Regions from separate parts of the Homo sapiens genome. Here regions 1, 2 and 3 are each linked to region 4. Evidence: promoter capture Hi-C in 16 types of primary human blood cells and fetal thymus (Javierre and others, 2016). All regions are on one chromosome and are shown on one strand. Each heading gives the region's core, a stretch centred on a gene start or on the middle of the fragment in contact. The rest is flanking DNA. Distances are from core to core; before and after follow the strand shown. Region 1 overlaps CFAP20 (cilia and flagella associated protein 20). Region 2 overlaps CSNK2A2 (casein kinase 2 alpha 2). Region 3 holds the start of ZNF319 (zinc finger protein 319). Region 4 holds the start of GOT2 (glutamic-oxaloacetic transaminase 2).

Evidence for each region. Contacts are between HindIII fragments. The CHiCAGO score rates a contact against its expected background, and 5 or more counts as called.
Region 1: a fragment that was not itself captured here is called in contact with the fragment with the promoter of GOT2 in region 4 in 2 of 17 cell types (activated CD4 T cells and non-activated CD4 T cells); the score reaches 5.6 in activated CD4 T cells.
Region 2: a contact is called between a fragment that was not itself captured here and the fragment with the promoter of GOT2 in region 4, in 1 of 17 cell types (activated CD4 T cells). The highest score is 5.1, in activated CD4 T cells.
Region 3: a contact is called between the fragment with the promoter of ZNF319 here and the fragment with the promoter of GOT2 in region 4, in 1 of 17 cell types (activated CD4 T cells). The highest score is 6.8, in activated CD4 T cells.

The regions. Positions count from the first base shown.
Region 1 is chr16:58,122,024-58,127,811 of GRCh38, reverse strand. All of the region lies in intron 1 of CFAP20 (cilia and flagella associated protein 20), which reads left to right. Among named protein-coding and RNA genes, the nearest start is that of CFAP20, 4.5 kb to the left of the region's middle. RefSeq lists a silencer at 701-770. The HindIII fragment of the contact is 219 bases long and covers 3,767-3,985 here.
Region 2 is chr16:58,178,297-58,183,765 of GRCh38, reverse strand. The region is part of intron 4 of CSNK2A2 (casein kinase 2 alpha 2); the gene reads left to right. Among named protein-coding and RNA genes, the nearest start is that of CSNK2A2, 17 kb to the left of the region's middle. The HindIII fragment of the contact is 181 bases long and covers 1,702-1,882 here.
Region 3 is chr16:57,997,721-58,003,811 of GRCh38, reverse strand. It overlaps ZNF319 (zinc finger protein 319), which reads left to right and starts at 3,140. Exons shown (of 2, transcript NM_020807.3): 1 at 3,140-4,319; 2 at 5,290-6,091. The coding sequence starts at 5,547. USB1 (U6 snRNA biogenesis phosphodiesterase 1) reads right to left here and starts at 2,405. Exons shown (of 7, transcript NM_024598.4): 1 at 2,231-2,405; 2 at 1,167-1,333. The coding sequence starts at 2,328. RefSeq lists enhancers at 2,167-2,266, 2,293-2,587, 2,760-2,929, 3,787-4,056 and silencers at 2,347-2,596, 2,887-3,486, 3,537-3,666. The HindIII fragment of the contact is 9,268 bases long and covers 1-6,091 here.
Region 4 is chr16:58,730,924-58,736,823 of GRCh38, reverse strand. It overlaps GOT2 (glutamic-oxaloacetic transaminase 2), which reads left to right and starts at 2,508. Exons shown (of 10, transcript NM_002080.4): 1 at 2,508-2,684. The coding sequence starts at 2,596. RefSeq lists enhancers at 2,384-2,463, 2,163-2,781 and silencers at 2,904-2,993, 3,094-3,183. The HindIII fragment of the contact is 10,522 bases long and covers 1-5,900 here.

The DNA of each region.
Region 1 (5,788 bases), core at 2,627-5,126, 610 kb after region 4:
CAGCTTTTAGGATGGTGTGTCCATAGTGTTACTTTCATAAGATAGTTGAAAAATCTGAATATAATGAAGTTGGGCCTTTGTGTATGTAAAATCTGCCCATCTCTTCTCTTTCAGATGATTCTATCCACAAGCTAGAGCTAGTGCCAGAGTACAGGAAAGCAGTTCCTTAACGTTGCTGCGTTACTGAGGTTTTTAGTTTCATGTATTTTTTCACAATGGAATAAAGCATTGTAAACTGTAAATTGCATCTGTACAAAGAGAGCCCAGGGTGCCTGGGAACTCCGTAAGGAGGTTGGCTTCCCAGCTGTCACTTGACTCAGTTATGGGCTGTCAGAAGGCATGAAGAGAGGGGGGCCCTCTGTGCCAGTGGAATTTGGAAACTGAATTGTAACAAAGTGTCAGTATAAGGCAATTGAAATCGAGAATGGGACTTGACCTAGGAGGAGAGGTTTTCAGAGCAGATAGAGAACTTACTAAAGCTGAAAGAATTCCAGTAGTAGGGAGGCCTCAGAATTTCTGTTACGAAACTTGTATCAGTTTTCCATTTTAACCCTTCTGGGCTTGATCTTGTGTGCTGTGTTTTATTTTTCAAATGAGGCTTTTTGAATAGTCAACATGTTTACCCAAGAATATAAAAGCATAGTAACCATGGTGCACTGTGTCCCTTAACAACGCCACTAGAGGTCGGATGGTACCCTAATGACATAAACACGTGTGAAAACATTGTTAAATCGATTGGCATGGTTACTTGGAGTAAATTAAACAGACATTTTGGCAAAACCTTTAGAACACTCATTTCAAGCAAAATCTTCACAACGGTAAAAGCTAATTTTGTGTTTCTAACTCTTCTTATTTAGACTCAATTGAAAAATATTTAGAATTGAGGATTTTTCCCCTCTTGGGGCAAGGGAAGGAAAGAGAAGAAAAAGGAAAGTTTGGGGCCGTATCCCTCAGCTTTGTCGTGTGTGCTTTTTCTCAGCTATGTCTGCATAAAGTGCTGGAAATTCAATCCAGTAGGGGGAACACTGGGAATTGATGTACTTATCAAAGATTTATTGAGCGACAGCTTAGTGACAGGCTTTGTGTAGACTTGGGAAGATAGAGAAAATATTTTTCCTGCTGCCAGGGACTAAGGCAAAGTTGTAATAAGGACAGAGTTTGTGGGGAGGTGAGGACTGTCTACATTTAGCTAGACATGACCTTGACTTTTGCCAGTAGGTATATATTGACTGTGGTACCTATTTATAGTTATTTTTATTTCAGAAAACTTTGTTGTTTTCTTTCATGAGTATATATAGAGAGAATTTCTGTTCGGTTTCTATGAAGAATCTTGAGAAATTTGGTTTGACTTTTGTTTAGGCTCTGTCTGCATAGAAGTGAACGCTGTATTCACAGTACCAGTGAATTTGCAAGCTTCCCTTTTGTGAAGATGGCTTGTTCGTTAGTGTTTGTCACACCGGCAATTTATTTGACTCTCTGAAGCTCACAGCCCCTCCCCTCCATCTCATCCTTCCAATCTCAACTTAAACATTCTTTTCATTGAGAACTTGAGTTAAGCCTCATGGGTGTGCCTGTGGCTGGCAGTTTTCTATTGTAGATCGTCCACTGGACTGCAGGTTCCTTAAGCAGAAGAACAGTACCTTACCGAAAAACCTCAATGCTAGGGCGTGGTCAGACACCTTGGATTTGCATCCTGGCTGTGCTGTGTTCCAGTTGTGTGATCTTAGCTATGTCCTTAACCATTCAGTTTTCTCGTCTATTTCTCACGGTTATGAAGATTCAATGAAGCTGTATATAAAGTCCTTAGCAACAGAGTTACAGTATATGTAGTCATGCACCACATGATGGCGTTTCAGTCAACGACAGACCTTACACATGACAGTGGTGCCATAAGATTATCATGGAGCTGAAAAATTCCTGTCGCTTAGTGACATAATAGTTGTTCGTTAAGTCAAATGCATTACTCGTGTTTGTGAGTAGGTGTAAACCAACCTACTGCACTGCCAGTCATGTAAAAGTATAGCATATACAATGATGTTCAGTGCCTAACACTTGATGATAAATGACTATGTTACTGGCTTATGTATTTACTATACTCTTTATCATTATTTTATTGTATTTTATTTTTCTGAGACAAGGTCTTGCTGTTGCCCAGGCTGGAATGCAGTAGTGCAATCAGGGCTCACTGCAGTCTCCATCTCCTGGGCTCAAGCAATCCTCCCACCTCAACCTCCCAAGTAGCTGGGACTACAGGCCCTCACCACCACACCTCACTAATTTTTGTATTTTTGTAGAGACGGGGTTTCTCCATGTTGCCCAGGCTGGTCTTGAATTCCTATGCTCAAGCAGTCCTCCTGCCTCAGCCTCCCAAAGTGCTAGAATTACAAGCATGAGTTCCCGTGCCTGGCCTTATCATAATTTTAGAATGTACTCCTACTTAACAACAAGAACAAAAAGTTAACTGTAAAATAACCTTAGGCAGGTCCTTCAGGAGATATTTCAGAAGAAGGCAGTGTTGTCATAGGAGATGACAGCGCCATGTGCGTTATTGCTCTTGCAGACCTTCCAGTGGGACAGCATGTGGAGGTGGAGACTGTGATTGATGTTAATGATCCTGACCCTGTGCGGGCCTGGGCTCATGTGTGTGTTTGTGTCTTAGTTTTTAACAAAAAAGTTTAAAAAGTTAAAAAAAGAAATAGGAAAAACCTTATGGAATAAAGATATATAGAAAGAAAATATTTTTGTGCAGTTGAACATTGTGTTTTAAGCTAAGTGTTATTACAAAATAGTCTAAAAGTTTTTAAAATTTTTAAAGTTTATAAAGTAAAAAAGTTCCAGTAAGCCAAGGTTAATTTATTATTGATGAAAGAAAAATATTTTTAATAAATTTAGTGTAGTCTGGCCAGGCACAGTGGCTCATGCCTGTAATCCCAGCACTAACTAAATAACTAAAGCACAGTGGCTCATGCCTGTAATCCCAGCACTAACTAAATAACTAAATAAAATAAATGTATTGTAGCATAAGTGTATTGTGTTTACAAAGTGTTCAGTAATGTCCTAGGCCTTCACATTCACTCACCACTCACTCACTGACTCAACCCAGAGCAACTTCCAGTCCTGCATGCTCCACTCATGGCCAGTGCCCTATCCAGTTGTGTCACTTTTTATCGTTTATACAGTACTGTACCTTTTCTATGTTTAGACACACAAATACGTACCATTATGTTACAGTTGCCTACAGTATTCAGTACAGTAGTATGCTGTACAGATTGTAGCCTAGGGGCAATAGGCTATACCATATGGCCCGGGTGTGTAGGATGTTGTACTGTCTAAGTCTGTGTAAGTACACTCTGATATTCACACAGCCATGGAACTGCCTAATGAGGCATTTCTCAGAACGTAATCCCATCCTTAAGCAATGCATGACTGTAGTTAGTACTTTATAAGTAATGACATACAGAATTAAATATGGCAGGGACTGAGGAATTTGCTCAAAACTAAAATAAGATGTTTGAACTTAGCCCACCATCCAGATTTCTAGGAATAGGAAGTACTGTAAAACCAGACTCCTGAAATGAGAAGAATTTAGTTGTTGCACCGTGGCTCGCCCAGCCCTAAGCCCTTAATGTGGCTCTAAGGCCACATAACCCATGCTCTGGCACCTGCTTCACTTGTTCTCCAGGCGGGACTCACTTCACCCGGTTCCCCCTCTTAGTAGTAGCCTCCTACTGAATTGAAGGAAGTCCTGTTCTCTCACCTTCAAGCTTTTGCACTTCCTGGTCCTTCTGCTGGGCGCTGCCCCTCACCACCCCACAAGCCTCACTCCCATCTTTTCATTAGGCTCCAGTCACAGTTCAAAGGCCTTTCTCAGAGTGACCTTCCTTAACTCTTCAGGGTAAGTTAATTTACTTCTTTCTTATCACACTTGACATTATTAGCTTCTTAAGGTCTGTATTCCTGGCTATACAGTTTCCTGATAGAAGCTTTTGTAAGTTTCTAAACCAACAGCTTAGAAGAAATTAGGGGTTTCTTTAATGTTACCTTGACATCTGGGACCAGCAAATCTTATATTTATTAAAAGACTCTTACGTTTAATGTAAACATTACTTCTGGTTGTAAGGAAAATACCAGGAGGTTCTGTTCCCACTTATACTTGTGTAAAACATGCTGTAATTTTCAGTCTTTTTTTTTTTTTTTTTTTTTTTTTTTTTTTTTTGAGACAGAGTCTTGCTCTGTCCCCCAGGCTGGAGTGCAGTGGCACGATCTCGGCTCACTGCAGGCTCCACCACCTGGGTTCACGCCATTCTCCTGCCTCAGCCTCCGGAGTAGCTGGGACTACAGGCGCCCGCCACCACGCCCAGCTAATTTTTTGCATTTTTAGTAAAGATAGGTTTTCACCGTGTTAGCCAGGATGGTCTCGATCTCCTGACCTCGTGATCCGCCTGCCTTGGCCTCCCAAAGTGTTGGGATTACAGGCGTGAGCCACTGCGCCCAGCCAATTTTCGGTCTTAATGGTAGTAATCCTGGCTGGGCGCAGTGGCTCACGCCTGTAATCCTAGCACTTTGGGAGGCCAAGGCGAGCTGAGGTCAGGAGTTCAAGACCAGCCTGACCAACATGAAGAAATCCCGTCTCTACTAAAAATACAAAAGTTAGCCGGGCATGGTGGCACATGCCTGTAATCCCAGCTACTCGGGAGGCTGAGGCAGGAGAATCACTTGAACCCGGGAGGTGGAGGTTGCGGTGAGCCGAGATGGTGCCATTGCACTCCAGCCTGGGCAACAAAAGCAAAACTTTGTCTCAAAAAAAACAAGATAGTATCCTAAAAGTACATGAGATGAGATTGCATTAATTCATGAAAACGCCTTTGTCTGTCTTTCCTGTCACCCTGTCTTTCTCTCAGCTGCTGCTGTTTCTCCCCTACTCCAAGACTAAATATTAGACCAGAGTCTTCTGCTGTTGCTGGATAGTGTTAGATTCCCATGTCCTGTTCTAATTTTAAAAATAAAGTCTCTCTTCAGAAAAAATTTCCTACATTCTAGTTTTTAGTTAGCATGCCTTGTTGATAAAAATTAAATTGGTGCTGTTTTCAGTAGTAGAATTGAGTGTATTTGGACATAAAGGTGGTAAAACTTTTTTTCTGACTTGGAGAATGTTCTTCATTATTCTGAGTCAGGTTTTACTGTAATTGAACGAAGACATGGTTTTTTGGTTTTGTTTTTCTTTTTTTTTGAAACAGAGTCTCGCTCTGTCACCCAGGCTGGAGTGCAATGGCACAATCTCAGCTTACTGCAACCTCCTCTTTCTGGATTCAAGCAATTCTCCTGCCTCAGCCTCCTGAGTAGCTGGGATTACAGGCATGCGCTACCACACCCAGCTAATTTTTTTGTATTTTTAGTAGAGATGGGGTTTCACATGTTGCCCAGGCTGGTCTCAAACTCCTGATCTCAGGTGATCCTCCCACCTCAGCCTCCAAAAGTGCTGGGATTACAGGCGTGAGCCACCGCGCCCGTCCGAAGACATGGGTTTTAATTACACTTGCCTTTTCTTAGCTGTGCACATAATTGTCCTTACGCTGACTTAGGGGTTGTTGGTGTATGCCCAGAGTTGCTTGTCTGCTGTCTGGATAGCCCCTGTCAAGTACAGCGAAGGGAGTGAAGCCTTTGACCCTTGGAGCCTGGGAGTCTGAGTCGGAGCTATGCTCAGTTCTCCCCACAGGGGTCTCCCTCTGCCTAATTTCTGTCTGGGAACCCAGCCCTTAACCCAGTGCAGGAACTTTCCTGCTGAAAT
Region 2 (5,469 bases), core at 543-3,042, 550 kb after region 4:
CATTTTCTTATAATGTAAATTATTTTAGACATTGAAGTGTTCTTTTTAAATCATGGTTTTAAGCTCGTGTTTCACAAAATTTATTGTTCAAACATTAAAACCTTAATATCAAGGTTTTTGGGGTTAGGCATACTAGACATGGTGGAAACCCTTTTTTAGAACGTAATTTAAAAACCAATATACAAACAAAATAGTAGTGTTGATTTTCAGGGGCACTTGGAGGACTTGTAGTTGATTGTAACTCTGTCAGTGAATAAGAGACTTGTGATTTTGTTGTGACAGGAGCTAGAGACAAAACTAAATCAGCAGTTAAAAGATGTTGGTATCAGGACGGATGGTTCTGGGTAAAAGTAAGAGAACCTTATTCTCACACTTTTTTTTTTTTTTTGAGATCGAGTTTCGCTTTTGTCACCCAGGCAGGAGTGCAATGGTGTGATCTTGGCTCACTGCAACCTCTGTCTCCCGGGTTCAAGCGATTCTCCTGCCTCAGCCTCCCAAGTAGCTGAGATTACAGGCATGCACTACTACCCCCAGCTAATTTTTTTTTTTTAATTTTTAAATTTTTTTTAGCAGAGACGGGGTTTCACCATGTTGGCCAGGCTAGTCTCAAACTCCTGACCTCAGGTGATCCACCCACCTCGGCCTCCCAGAGGGCTGGGATTATAGGTGTGAGCCACTGTCGCGCCTGGCCTAATTTTTCTTAATCACTCTAAAATGACTAAAACAAGGTTAATTAGTGAAAAGTAAGCAAAAGAAGATATTTTGACTTATAAAACAATAAGGAAGTTTTATGTGTAGTATAGCACTTTCCCACATGTGACAGATTTTCTTGTTAATGTGACTCCTTACAGGTGAAATTAGCAGTGAACTCTAAAAAGCAGGGTGTAAATTTTTTCATTCAGTAGCATAACAGCGCTTAGCTGGTAGGGTACTATGCTGATATGTGTAGCTGATCCTATGAATCACCCAGGTTTATCCTGGTATATGTGAGTGGGAATGTGTGTGCATGTCTTAGAAAACCAGATAGGCTTTAATGAAACCAAATATTTTCCTAATGCAAAAGTTGAAACCTTATCTGAATGGAAGTTCGTAGTGTAATTCCCCAAGTTTTAAATGCCTGGGCTTCGTTAATGAGTTTTTACCAATTGTCTGCTACATGTGTAAAATTTCACCTCAGCATTTTGTGGTTTTGTTTTTTTTTTTTTTTTTTTGAGACGGAGCCTCGCTCTGTCGCCTAGGCTGGAGTGCAATAGCGCAATCTCGGCTCACTGCAACCTCCCCCTCCCAGGTTCAATCAATTCTCCTGCTTCAGCCTCCCAAGTAGCTGGGACTACAGGCGTGCACCACCACGCCTGGCTAGTTTTTTTTTTTTTTTTTTTTTTTTTTTTTTTGGTATATTTAGTAGAAATGGGGTTTTACCATGTTAACCAGGATGGTCTCGATGGCTTACCTCGTGATCCACCTGCCTTGGCCTCCCAAAGTGCTGGGATTACAAGCGTGAGCCACCGCACCTAGCCCATTTTCTGTTTCTTAAAGTGACATCTGCTCTGTTGATTTAACAACTGCTGAAGATCAGTTAGTGGGAATTCTAATTCTTAGAGAAATTCTCTCTGGGGTCTTAACCCTCAAAGGGGATGTTTCATACATTCTCTTGTAGCTTTCTTTAAAGGGATTATGGGAAATTAATGTTTTTTTGAAGCTTGCATATCTGAAGTCATTTTTATTTTGTCCTGCCAATTAATGTATTTGCTAGGGTATAGAGTTCTAGGTTATAATTCATAATTTCCTTGATTTTGAAGAGATTGTTCCAGTATTACCACTGAAGCCATTCTAGTTTCATCTTATGTGACGGTTTTGTTTTTGTTTTTTACCTCTGGAAGCTTTTAGGATTTTCTCATTTGCACTCTTCTGAAATTTCACAATGACGTGCCTTCGTATGGGTCCCTTTTATCTTTTGTTCTGCATACTTGCTGGGCTTTTTCCCCTGTGTTTTGGAAAAATATTTTTAATGTTCTTTGATTTTTCTCCCCTTTCTTCTTTGTTCTCACTTTCCAGAACTCATTCAAATGTTAGACTTCACATCTTACAGCTCCATTTTGGTCTTGGAACTTTTTAAAATAGTATCCTGTTCTTTTATGTTTTATGTAATACCTTCTATTTTCTCACTAAGAATATTGTATTTTTTCCCTTCATACTTTTTCTCTATTTTTCTTTGTGTGTGAGTTTTTGTTATTTTGTTATTCAGTCTCTGAAATATCATGGTTTTTGAATGTCTGCTCATTGCTCTAAAGAACCATCAGCCCCTGTCTCAAGGATGCAGGCTTGGCTGCTGGTATCTTAGCCTCAAGTTGAGGAGAACCATGGGGAATGTTGTGCAGACTTCACCTAAGTCTCCCCTTTTCAGTGTGGCATCTTAAACTCATTTTCCCGTTTCCGGTGCACTCTGTTTCCTCTCTTAAACCAACATTGGAGGTCCCCCGTCCTGAACATTTCTGAGGTTGTTCAGTTTGAAGCTGTTTGCTTTTGGCCTTTCGCTGTTGGCAGAGACATGTTTTCTAGCTTCACAATGTTGTTTCTCCTATCTTCTTAGTTCTTACGATTTAATCTCCCTGCTCCTTTTACGGTTATTTTAGAGGAGTTTCAGGTAGAGCAGAGGTGTTTGATCTGCCTTGTTTAACTGGAGGTCCCCTTTGAATGTTCAAGCCATGACATTTTAATCAAGAGATCATTAAATATCAGATGGCAGATGTGTATTTTTGAAGAGCAAATCATGGCAGGAAAATTAAATTCTTTTCCAGATAGTATGGCAGGCCACAAACAAAATCATTTAGTTCACCGTCGTGATGTCCTTTAGTCTTTTTATTTTGTCCTGTGTCCATCTTATTAGGAAAGTTTGTTTTTTTGTCTTTTTAATTTTAGTGTAAAGTATATTAATAACTGGTTTTAAGATTATCACCCAGAGAGTGTTCATTCCTCGTTAATACCAGGGTGAATTAACAGTGATGCAGCCCGCAGCCCATTCTTTTCAGTATTTTATATTTGTGCAATGGATTATAAATTTTGATCTATAATTTTATTTTGTCATAGGGTCCTTCTCTAAGTTTGCTATCAAGGTTATACTATATAAGATAGATTGGGTAGCTTTTCCTCTTCCTATTCTCTGAAAGTTTATGTAAGATAGGTATTATATGGATAGATGTCTTTCAAGGATGGGAGGAAGACTTTGAACTATACTTTCCTTTTTAAAACATAACTTAAAGTTTATCCAGGTTTTCTGTCTCTTCTTGAGTCTATTTGGATAATATATATTTTATTCACTTTCAATTTGATTGACAAAGAATTCTCTTAGGACTTAAAAACTATATTGTTGACTGGTCACAAAAAAAAAAAAAAACTCTGGAGTATCTGTAGTTATCCTTTCCTTCACATTTTTAAGTAGTATTTGTGCCTTTACTCCTTTTTAAATCAGTCGTGCTAGAGATCTGTCGTTAATCTTTTAAAAGAACCAGCTTTTTGGTTTTATTGCTCAGTTATTGTTTTTGTTTGTTTTTCTCTTTCTGCTCCTATCTTATTTTTCTTCTTTCTTCCTTCAACTTTGTTGGGCTTTCAGTGGTTTTCTTCTTCATTTCTTGAGTTGAATTAAACTCATTGGATTCTGTTTCTCTTTTTCTTTTTTTTTTTTTTTTTGAGAAGGAGTCTCGCTCTGTTGCCCAGGCTGGAGTGCAGTGGCACAGTCTTGGCTCAATGCAACCTCCGCCTCCTGGGTTCAAGTGATTCTCCTGCCTCAGCCTCCTGAGTAGCTGGGATTACAGGCGTGTGCCACCATGCCTGGCTAATTTTTGTATTTTTTAGTACAGACGGGGTTTCACCATGTTGGTCAGGCTAGTCTTGAACTGCTGAACTCATGACCCACCCGCCTTGGCCTCCCAAAGTGCTGGGATTACAGGTGTGGGCCACCACGCCTGGCCTTGATTTTGTTTTTCTTGACAATACATGTGCTTAAGTTTGTACAACCCTAAGCGTCATTTTACGTGTATCCCATGGTTATGGAACTCACTTCTGGATAGTTTTCAAACTAGAAGTGCAAACTGCAACATTGTGAATTTGCATTTTTCTCCGAAGACTTTTTACTTGGAAAATTGGAAGGAGTAGCACAATCAGTATATATTCTTCACCTAGATTTACCAGTTGTTACTGTTTTGCCACATTTGCAGTTATTTTTCTCCCTGTCCCCTCACCCTCTCTTTTCTTTCTTTTTTTTTTTTGAGACAGAGCCTCTATCTCTCACCCAGGCTGGAGTGCAGTGACCTGATCTTGGCTCACTGTAACCTCCGCCTCCTGGGTTCAAGCGATTCTCCTGCCTCAGGCTCCTGAGTAGCTGGGACTACAGGCGTGCACCACCACACCCAGCTAATTTTTTGTATTTTTAGTAGAAACAGGGTTCCACCATGTTGACCAGGCTGGTCTTGAACCCCTTACCTCAGGTGATCTGCCCACCTTGGCCTCCCAAAGTGCTGGGATTACAGGCTTGAGCCACCATGCTCAGCCTCTCCTTTCTATTTCTATTTTATCTTTTTGCTGAGTCATTTTAAATTAAGTTGCAGACATCATTATGATACGTCACTTGTAAATACGCTAGCACTGAAACTAGGCTGTTTTCCTATGCAAACCACAATACTTTTAGTATACCAAAGAAATTTAATATTTATACAATAATGCCATCTAAGATAAGTTCATACTCAAAAGTTTCTCTATAATTATTGTTTCAGTAATGTTCTTTATAGCTGTGTGTTTGTGAATGTGTGATCCAGAATCCAGGTGAATTTTTTAAAAATTTGATTGCACTATGTTCAGAGAACGTGACCTATATAATGTTAATTATTTGGAATTTGTTGATGGTTGCTTTGTAACTTTAGTACATGATCATTTGTTATACCAAGTGTGTTAATTTAGTTCAGAATTATGGCCTACTAATTTTTTTCCTTGTATTTCACTTTATGGTAGAGGTATTGGTTTGGTCAGTTTCTCCTTAAAATCAGCAGTTTTTATGCTTCATATATGCCAAAACTGTAATAAAGATACTTTAGAACAAGACAAAACTTCGAAACGAATGAATGAGAAAAGTCAGTCTCTAAGAGTTGGACTGAATAATTGTAGCAACCTCCCATACTTAAAAGTGTCTCAGGCCGGGTGCGGTGGCTCATGCCTGTAATCCCAGCATTTTGGGAGGCCGAAGCAGGCAGATCACCTGAGGTCGGGAGTTAGAGACCAGCCTGACCAACATGGCAAAACCCCGTCACTAAAAATACAAAAAAATTCGGCGGGCTATGGTGCACGCCTGTAGTCCCAGCTACTCAGGAGGCAGAGGTAGGAGAATCACGTGAACCCGAGGGGGCAGAGGTTGCAGTGAGCAGAGATCTTGCCATTGCACTCCAGCCTGGGCAACAGAGTGAGACTCCATCTCAATTG
Region 3 (6,091 bases), core at 1,891-4,390, 730 kb after region 4:
CAATATTTTAAGATCCAATATTAGACCCACATCATAATATTAAATAAACAAAAATGATTAAAATTTATTAATAAACAAAAATGATTAATATTAATAAACAAAAATGATTAAAAAGTGGGCAAAAGACCTTAACAGACACCTCACTGAGGAAGATACACAGATGGCAAAAAGCATTGAAAAGATGATCTGGATCATATGTCATCAGGGAAATGCAAATTAACAGACAACAGTGACATATTGCTACACACCTATTAGAATGGCTAAACTCCAGAACACTGTCAATACCAAATGCAACTCCTTTGGGCAAAAACCAAGGAATGTAATTGCTGGATTTTATGATAAGAGTATGTTTAGTTTTGTAAGAAGCCACCAAACTGTCTTATTTGAGATGGAGTCTCACTCTGTCACCCAGGCTGGAGTGCAGTGGAGCGATCTTGGCACACCACAGTCTCTACCTCCCAGGGTCAGTCAATCCGCCTACCTCAGCCTCTCAAGTAGTGGGAACCATAGGCGTGTGCCACCACACCTGGCTAATTTTTTTGTATTTTTGGTAGAAACAGGGTTTCTACCTGTTGCCGAGGCTGGTCTCAAACACCTGGGCTCAAGTGATCTGCCTGCCTCCGCTTCCCAAAGTGCTGGGACTATAGGTGTGAGCCACCTGGCCTAGCCAGTGCTACCCCCATTTTAGATTTGAAGAAACTGAAGCTCTGAGAAGTCTAGTATCTTATAAAGGGCACCCAGAGTAGTGGGCAGCGGAGTGAGGTCTGACTCTGAAGCCTGGGCATTTTTTGTCTTCCACCTGCTGATCAGAGCTAGGGTGGGATTTGAACCTTGCACACCCAGCGTACCCAGGGCCCTCTCAGAAATAAAGTGCCTGGCATGACCTTGACACCCTGCTCCAGATTCTCCTTTGGTCACCTCCTCGTGAACAGGGAGAATATTATACCCAGAGGTAATACACATTTTAGGCTACGAATTCAAAACCAAGATGACAGAAAAATCCCCAGTTCTTGAAACCTGCTCTTTCTCTGCTAAGTCAATGACTTTCCCACCACCAGTGTTAGAGGTTTCTGGTTTCTTCCTTCTAGTTGGGGCCAGATTCTGCCCTTCATGAGGCACCTACGGGTCTATGGGTCTTGGCAACTTGCCTTTCACACATCACTCACATGGTACATAGACGTGGGTGGCCCAGTTGCCTCGCTCGTGGGGGAAGGTGCGCACCCGTCCCCCGTGTTTTGTGCTGTCATCTTCAGGCCCCTCCTCGGTGCCCGGGAACATGTTCAGCACACTGTCAGGTACTGGAAATCTCTGCCTGGGAAGGGGGCTCTGGCCACTGCAAAAGAAAAAAAGAAAAATGAGTACATTTATCCTGTTAGCATTCTCTACCTTTGTATATACCACAAAAGTTGTAACCCCTTATATATGGTGGCTCTGAGTGTGTGTTTCCAGCCTGGTGCTGGAAGCAGCTTCTAGATAGCGAAATTGTTTCTCCAGTATTGTCTCATTGGGGTCTCCAACTCTGGGGCACAAGGTCCCCATGGGAAACAACAGGGCATGCAACAATGTGGTTCAGGGGTCACATTTCCAAGCTGGACAGGCTGCAGCTGGAGTAGCACTTTCTAGCTCTATGACCTTGGGCAAGTCATGTCCCCTTTCTGGGCCTCAAATGCCTCATCTGAAAGTATATGTCTACCTGATAGAGCAATTGTGGGATCAACTGAGCTACTGCTTGTAAAGCACTCAGCAAAGATAAGGCCTAGCATTTAAGAATCTAAGCCCCAGGAAGTAAGGCCGACGGTTTTGTTCACCACTGAATTACCAGACCCCAGCCTGGCAGGGAGTGGGTGCTCAGTGAATATTTACTGGATGAATGAAAAGGCTCTCCCTACGCTTTAGCAAGTATTACTATCGCAATTGTATTCAAATCAGGAAACGGACCTAGGATGGTACAGGGATGTGTGCCAGGCGATAGAGTGGGCCAGCGCGAGGCTGGACCCGAACCCAGGTCTGGCCTCCCAACTTGGCCCTAGCCAGGTGGGGCCACTCTGGAGCTTTGTCTGGGGTGGGGGGGAGGGGTATATCTTCTGGATCCTCCTTTCTTCCTGCGTCCCCTTTTCCTTCCCAGAGCCGCCCCGCATCCTCCCTCCCCACTCCACCCCCAGACATTCGGGTCCCGTCTGGCTCTAGGGTGAATGCGCGCGCCCTCCGGAGAGACTTCCTCACTCCTCACCGACGGTGGCTCCCATCCCCCGGCCTGGTCCGCATCCCGTCCTCGGACTCATCCTCGGAGCCGCTGCTGCTGTAGCCCACCAGGGGCGCCGCGCTCATGGGGCCTCATCCAAGACCACCAGAGCAGGTCCACCAGCAACCTCAACCGGCACCCGGAGTTCCGCTGTGCCGGAAGCGCCCTCCCAGGGGCGGGGCCTGGGCTGGCACCGCCTCGGGGCGGAGCCGGGAGGGGCGGAACCCGGCAGGACAGTGGTGAAGATTCAGCCCACCGACTCCAAGCTGTCTGCCGGCTGCGCACGCGGATCTGGTCACCTGCAGCCTCCCGGCACCCCGCTGGGACCTCCCCAGCCTTCGTGTACCCATTTCATATATCGCTCAGGGCCCTCACCTTTCTGCCCGCTGCTGTCTGCAGCCACCCGGGACCAGACATACCAGACACGACAGTCCCGGGTCAGCGCACTAGACCCAGCGGAGACCCCTGCCTGCCCCGAGCCCGGCCAGGATCAGAGGTCCTGGAGCCCCCTCCTCAAACCAGCCCAAAGTCCAAGCCCCTAAAAGCCAAGCTGAGCAGTTAGGGGCGGATCAATTGTGGCAGACCAGAGCCTCTAGGAGGCCCCTCCTCTCCTGCGCAGAGCCGGGCCGAGGGCGGTCACCCGGAGCCCCCTCCCCTAAGCCCGAGCGGGGTGGCCGGAAGCAGAGCGCCCTTCCTCGGTTAGTCGAGGCGCCCAGGCCTGGCGACTCGAAAACCGCCCGGAGCACCCGGCTTGTCCGACCTGGCCCGGCCACGGGGTCCCCGGCAGGGGGCGGCCTCGCTCCGCGCCGCCCGCTCCTCCCGCATTGGCCGCCGCCGCCCGGGATGCCGCTCCTCCCCCGGCCCCGCCTCCCTGGCCCCCGCGCCGCCCGCCCGTCCGCCCGTCTCCGCAAGGCCATCGGTCCGTCCGCCCGCCCTCCCGGCGCTCCTCGCCCCGGCCCCGCTACTCCGGCAGCGCGCGTCGCTTCCTCCGTTCCGGCCGCCGCTAGCCCGTCCCCCGCCCCCGGTCCGGCCGCAGCCGCTACGCGAGGCCGGGGATTGGCAGCGCGCGTAGGCCGCGCCGCCGCGGATGGAGCCGGAATAAAGGGGCGGCCGAGAGAGCAGCTGGTCGCCGCTCGCCCCGCGCCTGCCCTGCAGGCGGCCTGGAGCAGGTGAGCGGCGGGGCGCCCGGGGCCGCATCTGGGGGCCACCCCCGCGCCCGCCGCACCCCTTCCTCTGCCGGCCCGGCCGCCCCCCCGCGCCCCTCCGCCGCGACCTAGCGGCCTCTTGAGCTTCTGGGCGGCCCAGGCCGGGCCTCGAGGCGCAGCCGCTTCCTGGGCCCGGCCTGTAGCCCTGGGGCCTTTCTCCAGCCCGGCCGCCCTCGGGGCTCGCCCTCGGGTCGCAGCGGCCGGGCCATCCCGGACGAGGGCTGACAGGACGCAGCCCAGCTGGGCCTGCAGGCAGGGCCGGCGGGAGGTGATCGGCTTTCATTCGGTTTCTCAGGGAGGAAGAAGAGACGGGGTGGGGCGCAGGTGGGGGGCCTCCCCTGCCTCTCCTTGCCTCCTCTCTCCCCTTTGCGGAGTGATCACAGAGGCTTCCTGGCTGCACCTTGCTGCAGGAGGGCCAGGGTGGGCAGGGGGTGCTGCAGACCAAGCCAGGGGACACTGTCTGACAGCCATTCATGCCAGAAAAAGCAAACAAAACAGTGGGTTGGCACAGCGGACCTACAGGCGCTCAGAGAAGCCCACCTTCCCCCTCTCTGTCCCGAGAAGGCTTAGAGTGGTACCTGCTTGCTCAAGCAACCTGCTGCCTCCACCCAGAGCAGCCGCTCCTCTCCTCCCTCCCTTCCGGAAGATGCTGAGGATGACAGCTTTTAGCCTGACTCTTACATTTCTTTGGCAGAGCAGTTAGAGGCCAGACTGTCCTGTGAAGGCTTCTCCTTCCTTCTTCCTCTGCTCAGGAGAAAACTTACAAACTTTTAAATGTAAGAGGCAGATGAGCTGGGAACCTGGAAGTGGGTTGCATCTGACTCTGAAAGTTCCTCCCTCTCGCTGGCATTACCTCATGCTGCCACAAAGTGGTGAGTTAGAGATTTGCCTGGGCTGGGTGGGCTTTACCTTCCAACAATTACCCAGAACTTTATAGGCTTGGAGTAAGGGAATGGAGTTGTCTCTAGAGAGGTGATGAGAAATGCTCTGTGGTTAGCATGCTGCATCCTGCATTGCCAAGGCAGACCAGGGCAGTTTCTTACATTTTCCTGCAGGCCTTGACACTATGAGATTCAGAGGATTTAGGACTTTGTGTGTGTGTGTGTGTGTGTGTGTGTGTGTGTGAGTTCTGGGAGAGAACCAGAGTGAGGAAGTTCTGCTGTGTGGACATCAAGCCTGGGTGGTTCTGTGGCCCTCTCATCTAGCCCCCATCACCTATGGGCTCTGGTTCCTGTAGGGCCACCCATCCTGTCACGCGGAGAGAGAATGGGCCTGTGGTCAGGGATAGTTGAAGGGGTGTGGTCAGTCCCTCATAGGTGAGAGTTTTTGAAATGGTCCTTGGTTCCACGTAGTTGTCCTAAATATTGACTGTCAGAGGCCATTTGCCACTGGGCTCTCAGACCTGGGAGGTCTGGCCTCCTTAGCTCTAAGTGGTGTGGCCCGTATTAAGACTCAGGGTAGCAACAGGAGAGGAGCTGCGGGCCTTAAGGAGGATTCTGTATTGTAGGCAGATAACCCCGGACTCTCACCTGTGAGTCTCAGCTAAAGGGTTGGCAGGAAGCTGGAGGGGACTTGTGGAGGCTGGGATGTCCTGGCCCAGGGGCGGGGCACTGAGGTGGGTGGGGGTGGAGGCCGCTGCCATTTCCTCTGCCTGGAGGAGCTGAGCTGGCTGCAGACCTCTCTGATTGCCTAAGAAGGGAGGAGTCCTGCAGCCCTGAGCACCTCTGCCTTCCCCGATGTGTGGTTTGTGATGGTGTGGTGAGTGCGGGCAGGACAGGGAGAAGGCCCAGGAAACTGCTGCTTGTTCCTTCCTCGAGCTCATACTTTCTCTCTTCTCTACAGAACGGATCACTGGGGAAGGCAGAGTCTCCCCGGCACTGCTGGGACCCTCCCTTGAAGAGCCCCCATGTCCTGTAGGCAGAGCCTTGTAGTCTGTCCGCTTGGTTACTGACTCGGGCTGTCTGACCAGCCCCTCTTCTGTGCCTTGTCTGAGGTCCTTGTCCATCTCTGTGATTGGGCAGCTTCTCTCTCTGGATTGGGTCACGTGAAGCGGGAAACTGAAGCCATTACTCTCCAAACCCTGTTTCATCTTCCCAAGCATGTCGGAAAGCTGGCAACAGCCGCCACAGACGCAGCCGCAGCAGCCACAGCCACCGCAGCCTCAGCACCATGCAGAGCCACCGCCAGCCCTGGCAGAGCACACGCTGCCTCCGGGCACGGCGGAGAACCCCCTGGGCTGTGCCGTCTATGGCATCCTCCTGCAGCCAGACCCCGGCCTGCAGCCCCCACAACACGCACCCCTGCAGGCAGCAGGAGAGCCAGGCCCCAAATGTGGCGTGTGTGGTCACGACCTGGCGCACCTGTCCAGTCCGCATGAGCACCAGTGTCTGGCGGGCCATGACCGCTCATTCCAGTGCACACAGTGTCTCAAGATCTTCCACCAGGCCACTGACCTGCTGGAGCACCAGTGCGTGCAGGCTGAGCAGAAGCCCTTCGTCTGTGGGGTCTGCAAGATGGGCTTCTCACTACTCACCTCACTGGCACAGCACCACAGCTCCCACAGTGGCCTGGTGAAGTGTTCCATCTGTGAAAAGACCTACAAGCCAGCTGAGGCAGCGGAGCCAGCCACCACAGCCGCCCCGTC
Region 4 (5,900 bases), core at 1,259-3,758:
TTTGATTTTGGGCCTCCAGAATTGTGAGTGAATAAATTTCTGTTGTTTTAAACCACCCAATTCATGGGGATTTGTTACAGCAGTCTGAGCAAACTGATGTACTGGTATGTTTGAAATTCTTGTTTCTTGGTGCTGTAAAGAAATAGCACTTGAACATAAATTTAATTTCCTCAGCAAGGCCATCTTTATACTTTCGGCAGAAAGGGTACACTCGACAGCAGTTTTGCCATGAGAGTACACCAAACAAAGGAGACAAGGTCACTTATAACCTGATACATCCACCTTGCTGCTGTGTCCGGTTTTCATTGGCTGGAACAGGTCCTCACATTTTGTATTTGTTCTGATTGGCTAGCAACTTAGAACTTTTTAAAAGAGGCAAAGGCAGAGGAGAGCAAAGGAAGGAGGAAGTAACTTGTGGAATGCTGAGAAAGGTAAAAACACCTTCAAATAAGGAAGAGGAACAGGCTATGACCTAATGCTTGCTTGGACCAGTATAAGCATGCCAGGGCAAATATTTAGGCTAAATGGTGGCAGCTAGGAACATAAAGTACATTGATTTCTTTATTATGGCTAGCAGATATTTAAGACTGTTAGTACAGGTCTTTGAATACATTTTGTTTTTAAGAGAAGTTACTATTTATTTCTAATTAGACAGGGAGGAAAGTCTTTAAAGAAGAATCTCTACTTTACTTTTCACAGGTAGAATCCCAAGTCATGGCCTATAGGCGCATAGGTCAAGGTCATATGAGAGCATAAGGGTCTGAGACAGTAAATTGGAGCTGGGCCGGAAGGACCTAGAATGTGGCCCTAAGTAGGGGTTTAGACTTTACCATTCAGGCAACGTGGAGCCACAGAGGAGATATTAAATTGCCAAGGTACACAGTTCTATCTCGGTTTTATTTTATTTATGTATGTATTTATTTATTTATTTAGAGCCAGCGTCTCACTCTGTTACCCAGGCTGGAGTGCAGTAGCGCAATCCTGGCTCACTGCACTCTTTTTTTTTTTTTTTTTTTGAGTCGGAGTCTGGCTCTGTTGCCCAGGCTGGAGTGCAGTGGCGCGATCTTGGCTCACTGCAAGCTCCGCCTCCCGGGTTCATGCCATTCTCCTGCCTCAGCCTCCCGAGTAGCTGGGACTACAGGCGCCCGCCACTATGCCCGGCTACTTTTTTTTTGTATTTTTTTAGTAGAGAGAGGGTTAGCCAGGATGGACTCGATCTCCTGACCTCGTGATCCGCCTGCCTCGGCCTCCCAAAGTGCTGGGATTACAGGCGTGAGCCACCGCGCCCGGCCTGCACTCTTGAATTAATGGGCTCAAGCAATCCTCCCTCCTCAGCCTTCTGAGTAGCTGGAACAGGCACGCAACACCACATCCTGCTAATTTTTTTTTATTTTTTTAAGAGATGGGGGTTTCATCTTGTTACCCAGGCTGGTCTCAGACTCTTGTTTTCATGCTATCCTCCTGCCTCAGTCTACCAAAGTGTTGGGTTTACAGGCATAAGCCAACACACCGGGCCCCTACCTTGGTTTAAGAGACGAGTATCAGAGAAATAGACTACACATGAGAAAGACTCGTTTGACTTGTGGATGTGTCTGAAATTCATTTGCTTTTTCCTTTAAAACCGATTCATTTCCTTCAAAACCGATTCATTTCCTTCCACAAACAGTTATCAGGATTTGACATACACGAGTTTGTCATTAATGACCATGGGTTATTTTGTGCTTACTAAATCAGGCCCTGTTTTAGACATAATCTGCTAATCTTATTAATCCTCACAACTGCCCCACAAAATACACATGCGACCCTCTCCATAAAAGGGATAAGGAAGCCAGGTGCGGTGGCTCATGCCTGTAATCCTAGCAGTCTTGGGAGACTGAGACGGGCAGATCACTTGAGATCAGGAGTTTGAGACCAGACTGGTCAACATGGTGAAACCCCCGTCTCTACTAAAAATACAAAAATTAGCCGGGCGTGGTGGTGGCACCTGTAACCCAGCTACTCGGGGAGCTGAGGCAGGAGAATCGCTTGAACCTGGGAGGCAGAGGTTGTAGTGAGCCGAAATCACGCCACTGCACTCCAGCCTGGGTGACAGAGTGAAACTCCATCTCAAAAAAAAAAAAAAAAAAAAAAGGGTGGGGGATAAGGAAACATTCAGGAACGACGTGACATGACTTGTGCTTAGGGAAACTATTAGGGTTGAAAGTAAGGCCACCTTGGGTCCTAATGGCTGTAAGGCATCAGACAAAATACGTCAACTATGTCAGCCTACATTTTCTCATCTTTCAAACTGCCATAACAGCAGCCACCTCTTCGGCCGGCCAGGCCTGGCCCAGCTGGATTAAATGAATGAAGCGCAGCAAGGGCTGGGCGTAGGTAAACTGTGCAGTCATCCTCTTCCACGACCTCCGCTGAGCCCACGCCGCTCCGCCCGCCGGCCGCCAGGGATCGCTGTGACGTGGCTCGGGCCCAGCACGCGGCCGCTCTGGCCCAGGGAAGTCCCTGTCCTTACCTTCAGCAGGAGCCGGTTCCCTGTGTGTGTGTCCGCTCGCCCTCTGCTCCGTCCTGCGGCTGCCCACTGCCCTCCTACGGTCCACCATGGCCCTGCTGCACTCCGGCCGCGTCCTCCCCGGGATCGCCGCCGCCTTCCACCCGGGCCTCGCCGCCGCGGCCTCTGCCAGAGCCAGGTAAGCCAAGGGAAACGGAGATGGAGCCAGGGCGATGGCCCTGCCCCGCCGAGCTGCGAGCACCCCAGGACATTCACCCCTCCCGGCCCCCAAATACACACTGTCACTCACACGCACACACACACACTTTTCTGCCACCCCCTCGGCTTTCCCTTACTGGGGACTGAGGATTGAGCGTCCGTGCCCCACAGTGATCCTCAGGATCCCACATCCCTCTGGTCCCCGCACTGGGCCCTGCAGGAAGGCGTGCAACGCAATCCCTAGGGAAAGGAAGTGTGGCCCTCGGCGGTTGCCGGACTCCCATTCAGTGGGAGGGGTGCGGATAGTACTGGGGCAGCGGCGCCGGGTAACGACCGTGCCCTTGATAGGGTGCCCTGGGGGCGGCGGGCGCACCTGTCCTGGCCCCCGGCCCGCCCGAGTCGGTGGGCCGGCGGCGGCTGGCTGCCGCGTGTGTGCCCTGGGCGGGAAGAGCGCGAGAGGAAGGTTTCCGGGGCGCCGGCATTCGGGCCTCGCTTTCCTTCCCGCACCTGCGACCTTGGCGTGCGGCATTCTCCTGACCTTGCGACCCCCCGAGGTCCCTGTGACCCCGGGGCCCGTTTGGCCTTTGCTTGGGAAAGGGTCGAGGTGTAGTGTGTCTCTTTTTTTGTTTTGTTTTGTTTTTTCCTTATTGCCCCTAAGGAGGTCCGGTTGCAGGGAGGCTATCAATCTTCCTCTCCATCTCCCTGTGCTCTTTCATTCAGTAAATATTTCGTAACTGCAGTTTCTCAGAGCCAGGCTCTGGACCAGATGCCAACGATACAACTGTGAACAAGGCGAGGGAAGGACAATGACAAATGGTCATTGCTCAAAAAATGACAAACGTAATTTCGTACTGTGGCGTGTATAATAGTATGGAGGGAAATTTCAGAGCTTGAAACGAGCTCTAGTAATTCATTCCCAGTGGAGACCGGAGCCAGAAGATTAATTCAACTCAAGAAGCCGATTTGGAGCACTCTCCTTAAGCACTACCTTAATAAGGAACTGAGTTTTAAAACCACCCCCAAGCAGGTATTAACTGCAAGGAGCAAAGCGTAGCTTGGCCTTTCGTTTGAATGTATGCTCTGTGTCTTTCAGCCAGCAGAACTATCTGTCCTTTCCAAGGCCCCACAGCCTTGGCAGTACAGTTTTGCCCAGGCTTCGCACTTTTTTCTCTTCCTGACTTGGCTCCTTCCTGGCCCACTGTCAACGTGTGCTCTTTAAGTCTGCCTACCTAGTGGGCCAGAGCCAGGAGGAGTTATTTATGCAACAAATTTGGAAAACCAAAGGAGTGCTTAAAATTTCCGTCAAGAGAAAGTATGTTTCCCTATTGCAGTAATCTTAAAATAATACCTTGTTTTATGGATTTGGCTAGATCACCTGAAGCTCTAGTGCTTGGTGAAAATCCCTTGGGGTCAGGGTTAGTCATTCTTTCAGTTTGAGAGTCTGACTCATTTTTCTTTTCTGTATTTTTCTTACTAGAATGTAAGTTCCATGAGAGCGGAGACTTTACCTACTTTATATTCACTGTTACATCTCAGCACTATTAACAGTTGCTGGCATGTCTCTTATATTGGATATTTTTATTTTAAGCCCTGATTTTTCACGTAATGCAACGGAAACAAATACAGTATGACATTTTAATGTTGTATCTTAGATCAAAATCTGAACATAGGCTGGTCCAAGTGTAATGGTGTTTACAACTAATTGATCATAACCAGTTACAGATTTTATTGTTCCTTCTCTCGACTAATCTTACACAGGGGAACCACAGTGCTGCAAAATATGTACCAAAAAAAATTCCCTTTTTTTTTTTCTTTAAATACAGGGTCTCACTGTGTTGCCCAGGCTGGAGTGCAGTGGCACAATCATGGCTCACTGCAGCCTGACCTTCCAGGCTCAAGTGGTCCTCCTGCTTCAGCCTCCCAAGTAGCTGGGACTGCAGGCATACACCACCACACCCAGCTAATTTTTTATTTTTTGTAGAGACAGAGTCTCCCTGTGTTGGTCTCAGACTCCTCCCACATCAGCCCCGCAAAGCGCTGGGATTATAGGCTAAGCAACCCCACCTGACCAGAAAATAAATTCTTGAAATAGTTGAGCACCTAATGTTGAGGAATTACTCTTCAGATTTAAATAATGATACCTGATTAGGTGACAGAATCAGATGCCATATTTGGCATGAAGGTTAACTCTTCAGGCAAGATCAGACTTCCCTCCTTACACTGTGGAAGTGATCTTTACCTAGCTCCAAATGGTAAAAGTGGAAAATACTTAAACTGAATTCATCGACATTTCTATTTAAATGGCTCATTCTAATACAATAAAACCTTGTCTGTTGTTATTCTGAAGAACTGAGGATTTATCCAATGGCATACTTGGAACTCTTTGTAAATATGTGGAACTCTTTGTAAGTTCAAGTGTATCATTTAGCTAAACACTGCGAATAAAACTTTCTCTTGTTGACTTGTACTGTAAATGTATAGTGACATGAGATCAGACATAGTTGCAGTTCAATGAAGAAAAAAAAAGATGCTAATGTATTTTGATTTATAATGATTTGCTTTTAATTATTTAATTCTGATTATTTACTTTTTGGTGAAATAACTGAGCAGGTCTCGTGAGACTTTAAAAATGCAGTGTGCAACTGTGGTACCATAACCATTGGTTAAAAGATCACAGACCAGGCACAGTAGCTCACACCTGTAATTCTAGCACTTTGGGAGGCTGAGGCAGGTGGATTGCTTGAGCTCGGGAGTTCTAGACCAGCTGGGCAACATGGCAAGACCCCGTCTCTACATAAAATACAAAAATTAGCCGGGCATGGTGATGTGCACCTGGAGTCCCAGCTACTTGGGAGGCTGAGGTGGGAGGGTCGCTCGAGCCTGATCGCTTGAGAGGTGAAGAGTTGCAGTGAGCCCGCTGATCACGCCGCTGCACTCCAGCCTGAGCAACAAAGCAAGACTGTGTCTCAAAAAAAAAAGATCACAGCTGTGCTATTGTCTCTGCCATTTTTAGCTCTGTGATTGTGGGCAAGCTAATTAACTTCCCTTCTGATTTTAAAGTAAGAAGAATGTGAGGAAAAGCAGTTTAAAAACTGTAAAACTTTAAGTAGGCTTAAGCTCCAGGGAAATTACAATGCGTTTCGATTGGAAAGGCTTACCTGAATACTTGGTACCTAACCTCTCTTGGATGACCAGT